Regions from separate parts of the Homo sapiens genome. Here region 2 is linked to region 1. The links are contacts of gene promoters, found by promoter capture Hi-C in blood cells and fetal thymus (Javierre and others, 2016). All regions are on one chromosome and are shown on one strand. The core of a region is centred on a gene start or on the middle of the fragment in contact, and the rest is flanking DNA. Distances in the headings are between cores, read along the strand shown. Region 1 holds the start of EGOT (eosinophil granule ontogeny transcript). Region 2 overlaps CRBN (cereblon).

Region 1 (4,087 bases), core at 1,117-3,616:
GGAACTGGGTGGGTTTGGACAGCTCATTTATTAACTTCCATCCTCAGTTCCCTCATCTGCAATGGAGAAAGAGGAGGAGAACCACTTGAGATTCTATTGCAAGGAGTGCAGGAGAGAAAACAGGTGAGAGCCCGCACAGTACCGGCAGGGTGTCTACACCAGCCACGTTCCCTTCGCTGCTCTCCACACAAACTGTGACAAGGACACTTGGCCATAGAAGCCGAAAAAAATAAATCCACTCAGGCCGGATGGAGGCAAGGACACTGGCTTAGGTGGCAAAGCATCAAGCAAAGCAAGTGCCTCCTTGATGAAGACTGCAGTCACCCCCAGTCAACCCTAGTCCTTCCCAACTCAACTGACTCTCGGGTACAGCCGAGTCTGGTCCCCAGCAGAATGCTCTGGGACTCTTCATGTCTCCCCACCCTGCATCCCCATCTTGCTGTGTGCTGGCCCACCAGGTAACTTCCACACGGCCACAGAGAGCATCCCTGGCAGCTGACAGTAAGATGTACAGATGGCCAAGCGGTTAGAGCAGGGCAGGGTGAAATCACACAGCACTCATCTGGGTAAAGCTGCTTTGTATATTAGGGCTTTGGCGGCGGCAGCGCATATCCAAGCAGGGGACAGGCCCAAGCCAACTTGGTGCCCTTTAGAAGCACCGACTAGGGATCGGCGGGAACCACAGAGATCACCTCATCCAGCCCCGACTTGATGACAAGCCCATCACCCTGGTGGAGCAGATACTTTCCGCAGCTCTGCCCCTGACCGACCACCATGGGGTAGACCGCGTTAGCTTCCTTCACTCAGCTCCTCCAACATCCCAAGCACAAGCCAACCCTCTTCTGAAATACTCTTGCCCTCTGCTACTCTTCACACAGCTCCTTCTCTTCGCATCTGTTGGGTCTCAGCTTGAACGGTATCTCCCCAGAGAAGCCCTCCCTGGCCACGCTTCGTGGCGCCTGTTTGCTTCCCCATCACACTTCTCTGAAGCTCTGATTTAGCTGATGATGAGCTGATTTCCTAGCTCTGTCTCCCACAAGACTGTAAGCTCCTGGAGGGCAGGGGCTATGTTGGTCTCATCCCTGACTGTATTGACGCCAATGTGTATAGCACCTGACACCCAGGGAGTGCTCAGTAAGTAAACATCTGCTATATTAAGCCGGCTGTGGTGACACAAGCCAGTAGTTCTAGCTACTCCGGAGGCTGAGACAGAAAGATCTCTTCAGCCCAGGAGTTCAAGGCCAGCTTGGTCAACACAGTAAGGCCTCTTCTCTCTTTTTAAAAAATTTACTATATTAATGAATGAACAATAATCCTGAAGGAGGTGCAATTCCGAAACACTCAAGCCAAGCTTTGCATCCATGGCAGCTGAAGTATAACTTTATGGCCAGAAGAAGCCTGCATGTGAAAGCTCAAAGTCCTGCTAAGTGGGAATATGCAGCACACCGCAGACCAGCCAAAGGCAGCTGATGTGGTGTTGTCACCTCTACGGGCTTATCCGGTTTTTGCACGTAACTCTGTGATGGGCTCAGCCTGGCTGAGGATCCTTAATCCATCGAGTTAACTGTTAACTACCCCGGCCCCAGTGACACAGCAGCTTGCATGATTAACTACAGCCCGGGAGGGATGATCATTTGTGCACCTTCCGTCTCCAAACCTGGCTCCCTCCCCAGACTTGATAGCTACAAGCTCTGGGCTCAACAGTTTGTGGGTTTGTGTTGCAAGGAGGCTAATAAAAACATATTTCTCAAATACCATATGGTGAGGGCAACTGCAACACATCCTCCTCGAAGAGCAATAAAATATATATATTTTTAAAGTCCTGAATTCCAGGGGAAAAACGAGGCTTGAAGACTTCAGAGGGTTTACAGGACTATCCCCTTCAGTGTCAGAGCCATCTTGATCAAAAGTCTAAAACCCAGGAATAGGAAATTGGTAGAAACTTTGAGAGAGCCTCTGACAGTTTCAAAGAGGAACTCAGAGGACCTCAGGAAATGTGAGCGGGCATAGATTTCTCCGTGAAAAGGAGGGTCAAGGCAGAAGAACCAGAGGCAACTGTGAACATCAAGTCAGTTCTCAGGGAAGCAGGGGATCCAAGTGTGTACATGAGGCGCCTTCACTGTCCCTGCATCAGGAATCTAGCTGTTGGCACCTTATAATGAGAAAACAGTCTCAACCATGAAGTTAACTCTGCTGGAAGATTTCCAAAGGGAAAGTCCCTCCCGTTACTCAGAGGGGAAAAAAAAATTACCTACTTGGTCTGGAATCCGGGGATATTTTATGCAGATGTCTCTAACAGAAGTTAATAAAGGGAAGTCAGCTTGCCTCTGATTATTCAAACAGGCTACTGCTATTAAGGATTGCACAACTTCTGGGCAAGGCAGAGGTGGGTTTGGCTTTTTAAAAATTTTTTCAGCCTGTCCTCATGGAACTACATATTCTTTTCTAAGAACTTTTCATCCTAACCTCCCTACTCACATCTTCTAAGTGTCTCTGCTCTGGTGGGAATGTGATGGACAACACAGAGCCATCTCAGAAGCCTCTGTGGCCACCACCAGGCCGGCCAGGGTGCAGGGGGCCACTCCCTGGGCAGCCATAGGGTTCTCAGCAAGGTGCATTCGTCGTCCCTGCTGAGAATCTGATGGGGCAGCATTTTTTTTTTTAATTAAATGCAAGCTGAGTCATTTCAACCTGCAACCTTCAGGTAACAGGAGTTACCCAAGCTCCAGGAATTATGATTGTGGGGTAAACCCATTCTCTTGTTTTCTTGCGGTTCTATTTTATAACGCACTAGAGGAGACAGAGACGTCATTGCTTCACCCAGGGCAAGAGGACAAAGGAGGATGCATGGAAATACAAACAGCCCTTCTCCTCCAGGCCATACCGACTGTCCAACTAGCAACAGACTTCACCTGGTTTTGGAGCAATCTGAATTTGGAATATGCCAGAGAAAACTTCTATCAGGCAAGATGGAAGACTCCTAGGATAGGTCTCTCTCATGGAGGGATTGGTAATAAAAAAATCATGGGAAAAGAAATAAGGGAGGGTGGAAAAAACACACCTTAGAAAACAACTTCTGATGTCCCGGGGCTACACAATGGGGGAGCTGAGCACTTAGGAAGGAGAGGGAAAATATTCTGTTTCCGGAGACAGCTCCAAGAATCATGAGTAGGTGTGAGAAACAAGGAAGCTTACAGATTTAAAAAAAAAAAGAAAGAAAGAAAGGAAGGGGGCAAAAGGAAGGAGTCAGGGAAGGGGGGAGTGAGATCTTTGAGAGACAGGGGAATTAAAAAACACCATAGCAACAACGCAGTCCACCTACCCTGGCCGCCCACCCACAGCCAGATTCTTTACTGACGCATTTGAGAACAAGCTGGTTCCTACCAGCTCAGGAAGGTGAGCAAACCCAGAGAGCTCATTAAATCCCTTCTCAGCGACTCTTGTCTGCCTGCAGATAGTGAGCAAGGAGGATATAAATAGAAGTTATATAACATCTCTTTGTTGATTCCTGTGCTTACCAAAAAAAAATGCAGCATGACCTTGTTTTTCTTTAGAGTTTGCCTCGGCCTGCTGGTTGAGGACTTTAATCCAGATAGGAATCATCTTGAAGTTTAAACAGCAGGATATAGATTTCCAAGTTAAGGGTGCTCTGCATGGCCATCCAAGTTAGGAACCCACAGGGTCAAGTCCTCCTCCGCGGATTAAAAAAAAAAAAATCCACCAGCTCTAAAACAACAACAGCAGGTATGGAATCTTGTGGCTTCCTCTTAGAACATCTCCTGAGGTAAATTAAGGAGTAAATTTGATACCCAAGAGCAAAGCATCATTAAAATGGCATCTTGGGTTTTCTAAAGGAGGTTCGAGCACCACAGGTATATTCAAAGGTAACTGGTGGTTTCCACATACCCTCCAGGCCTAAGCAGTTGTCTTTTTGTTCCTTAACAGGCACGATGGTAAGAGTCCAGTGGATGGAAAAGGCCTCCTCCTTAAAGATGGTGATGGAAACGAGCACTGCACAGGGAAACACAAATCAGGTCCCCTGAAATCCAGCCCAACCTGGCCAGACCCTCCAGTGCCCATCAGGGCT
Region 2 (4,087 bases), core at 1,082-3,581, 1.6 Mb after region 1:
TAGACCCATTATTAAGGCCTCTCATAAGGGTATGTCTGTCTTCATTTAAAAGGCCTCTGTGGAATGAGATTTCTCTTGGCTCCACTACTTCTCTGGCCCTGTAACCACCTTCACTGGAAATGGTGAAATGAAAGAAATTCTGGAGTTGATTTAGTTCAGTCTCGTCTTTTTCTGTATCAGAATGCCAGGTACTAGAGAGGTTAAGTAATTTGCTTAAACAGCAAATAAGCGACAGACCTGATTGGTTCTAGGTCCCATGACTTCCAAACTGGTACTCCTTCCATTATACCAGAATTTCTCTATAACACATTTGAAACTCAAGCCAGCTTCCCTTTCTCCAGTAAAATATTTAATATTCATTTGTTTTTCTTAGAGAAATAAGCATATAGAAAAATAAAAATTAAAAAATATAAATATCCATCTTTTACCTAAATGACACTTCATTTATTAAAAGTACACTACAGAGGCCAGGTGTGGTGACTCATACCTGTAATTTCAGCCCTCTGGAAGGCCAAGGTATGTGAATCATTTAAGGCCAGCAGTTCAAGACCAGCTTGGCCAACATGGTGAAGCTGCATCACTACTAAAAATACAAGAAATTAGCTGGGCATGGTGGCCTGTGCCTGTAATTCCAGCTGTTCGGGAGGCTGAGGCATGAGAACCACTTGAACCTGGGAGGCAGAGGTTGCACTGAGCAGAGATTATACCGCTGCACTCCAGCTTCGCCAACAGTGAGACTCCATCTCAAAAAAGAAAAAAAGTATACAACCCCCAAAGTCATGAGTGTGTGTGGGTTGGGGAGGGCGGAGGGGGGGTGGGCATCTTCTGAACACATAGAAATTTTTTTTTAATAAAAACAGGTCTCACTGACATAGGACTCTTCAGAAGTTCCTACTTCTTAGCATGTAGAGAGGAGGAGGGGATTGATATCCTATTGGCATCACAAGAGAAGATCTCTTACCTGTCTAGACTGAGACCAATAATTGTTAGTCAAAAAGTTAGCTGAAGCTGGAAATCACAAAATGTTACACATATATAGCTTAAACATTTTATTTTAACTTTATAAATTCATTCATTTTTCATCTGGAGAGACCAAGGTCTTTCCATTGAAGCAGTTCTGCAGATTGGAGATGACTGTAGACTTTCTGGCACTTTCATTGTACATTATCCACAGTTTATACTGCTAGTTTTTCTTTAAAGAGGGATTCTAAAGATAGTCACAAGGCAATTTGAGTGCAGAATTTTTCCAGATTTGTGCGGTTTTTTTCCTATTAGAGTAGTCTGTACCTAATTTGAAAGCAGTTTATGTCTCAACTTAATGTTCCTTGAAGCAGTTTTATTGTTGAAGTCATATTTCACTGGTTTTTATAACATTTATATAAATTATGTTGCTGTAATCACAAAACAACTGTGATAAACAAGTTGGAAAGAAAAAAAACTAGCTTATGTTAAAAACAAAACTCAGCTGCTGGGAGAAGAACCAGCCACTGCATATGCAGTGGACCCTGGCCATGTTTAACCAGGTAAAGGAGAGCATTCCTTAATCCTTCAAGGCAATTCAGACAGTTTGTACTGCAGACTAATTAACATGATCTGTAAGCCAGGGGATCAATAATGTTACTGTTTTTATCATAATCAAATCTTATACAATAGTTGGGTAAAGCATAGTTCTTAATTCAGTTACCTATAACCTTGAAGAATCAGATTTCTAAAAATTTCTATAGGATGGTATATACTTTTACCTTCATAATGTAATTAACAAGTTATTTGTGTTCATGAATCAGGTGAAGAAAATTGAGATTTTGTTTCTAATGAGCTCTAATAATAATATAAGAACACTTGACCATAATTTGACTATAGTAAAATTTTTTAACATTTTCCGAAGTCATGTAGACAAATTTTCTGAGTATTTCTAATGAGTTTGCAGGAAGGAAATAAAGTTAGTAGAGTGAGTCTACTATTATCATTAAATTAAACTTAGATACTTTCTAACACACTCAGTTATTTTTCCTTCTAATAAATAAGTAAAATGTCAGAATTTCATCCATAATATCTTGTGGTCAAACAGTGGTTATTATGAAAGACTACTTTAGAAGTCTTAAGTATAACTAATAAAGCAGAGACTTTTAATATATTTGACTTTGTCAGTCTGACAGTGTTATATACTAGCATTTGAATATAGTTACATATTCTACATTTCAGAAGCTACACTCTAAGAGATAGAATGCCTCACAGGAAGATAGCTCATAGATACAACCTTCCTGTTTGCACTAGTTCATGATAAGATGTTTGCAATTATGATATTCTCAAGTAGCATTTTGGAAATGACTTTATTATGACATTTTAAATAACTTTTAAGAAAAAATCTAATTTATAGTTTGATCCTTTGTACAGTTAAACTCTTAAGAACGTGAAAAGGAATGCACACAGAAAGGTTGCATGTAACTCTCTAGTGTTATTTTAATTCATCCATGTAAATGCATTCTTGATTTTTCTCTTCCTTTCTCTACTTAGATTAGATGACTTATGAGAAAGGATAGATGTAAGAGTTAAGCAGCATAAGAAGTGGGGGGATAGAAGAATTTGGGTGTCTTAAGAATGTTTAAGAAAGTAGAAGTATCAAGCAGTAGTTGGTTGTATGTTGGTTTTTTTAAAACTTTGTTTCATTTATAGACTCTGTATTTATCTGAAATGTGTAGATCTCCCTTTCCATTCCACAGTGACATTGAAGATCCGTACCTTAGGTTATCTTTGGTTTTAACTTTGGTATGATTTATGAAATAAAATTATTTTCTGAAAGTTTCTGTATCTTAACATCAGTATTTGATGAATATGTTTAAAAGATAAAACTTGGAAAATCTTGGTATTTAAAATTATCACTGTTTAGAAACTTATAGTTTTGAGTTAGTCAATCTTAGAAATGAATACCATGCTTGGTTCTCTTTATTTTAGAATCCAGCAAGCTAAAGTGCAAATTCTTCCCGAATGTGTGTTGCCTTCAACCATGTCTGCAGTTCAATTAGAATCCCTCAATAAGTGCCAGATATTTCCTTCAAAACCTGTCTCAAGAGAAGACCAATGTTCATATAAATGGTGGCAGAAATACCAGAAGGTGAGAAACTAATTTTTTATGCATCTTCAAAAAATGAAGACAGGTTGTTTTTTTTCCTGTTTTAAGAAAGAAACACAACTTTCATGATTCATTACCCAGCCACCTTGTATGGCAATATTCCAGCTACATTTGATCCTCTAAAAATTGCACAGGCAGCTACTTTATGTAAAAGCAGTTTACAAAAGCAATAAAATGTCACACAGCTGTAAGGTATCCTTGTTATTATGCTTATCAGCTATATTAATCGCTTTTGATTTTTAATTCCATGGGAAATGCTTATTAAACTATGATCAAATTAGATGTTCGGCTCTTGAGTTATAAACATCCATTATCTTAAAGAAGGGAGGATTCTTTTGGGGTAGAGTAGTAGTAGAGAAGTAGAGTCTGTTTTCCTTCTTCCAAACCAGAGAGAAAGGTTTCTTTTGCTATGTGTTTTAATGAAATACAGTTGACATCGCAGAAATTGACTTGAGACTAGGTGCTCTTTAAAAATGTTGCTTGTTTGGGCACTAATTCCTATGTTATATCCTTTGACTAAATCATAATTGTCATAGGAAAAAAAAATTGAGGGAGCCTGTTTCTACTCGTTTGTGAGATGTGCAATTTTAAGTATAGTTAATATTTATAATTGCTACCTAAAGAAAAAGATTACTAGTTTCTAAATTTAGAATAATTGGGCTTTTTGAGTTTTTTTTTTTAATATGGAAAGACAGTTTCCACTGTAACCTTAAAAATTCTCTATTAATCATTCCTTTGTTGAGTGGTGAGGATTTAATATTTTAATGTAAATACAGAATCCTAATTTAATGTAAATTATTATGGATAATTAATGAAGTGGACTTATATACTAGTCACTGTACCGAATTTTTATTGTTCTTGCAGTAGAATTCCTCCAGTTTTCAGTGAAAACTTGTGCAGAATGGGCACTTGATGGGCATCAGGGTTATAACCAGGTATCTATAAGACTTCCTGGTC

What was found. The method cuts DNA at HindIII sites, captures the fragments that hold promoters and counts their contacts. A CHiCAGO score of 5 or more calls a contact.
Region 2: a contact is called between a fragment that was not itself captured here and the fragment with the promoter of EGOT in region 1, in 1 of 17 cell types (naive B cells). The highest score is 5.5, in naive B cells.

What each region holds. Positions count from the first base shown.
Region 1 is chr3:4,749,869-4,753,955 of GRCh38, reverse strand. EGOT (eosinophil granule ontogeny transcript) reads left to right here and starts at 2,366. Exons shown (of 2, transcript NR_004428.1): 1 at 2,366-3,010; 2 at 3,946-4,087. All of the region lies in intron 44 of ITPR1 (inositol 1,4,5-trisphosphate receptor type 1), which reads right to left. The HindIII fragment of the contact is 1,839 bases long and covers 1,354-3,192 here.
Region 2 is chr3:3,166,659-3,170,745 of GRCh38, reverse strand. CRBN (cereblon) reads left to right here. Exons shown (of 11, transcript NM_016302.4): 5 at 2,953-3,112. Among named protein-coding and RNA genes, the nearest start is that of CRBN, 11 kb to the left of the region's middle. The HindIII fragment of the contact is 8,322 bases long and covers 1-4,087 here.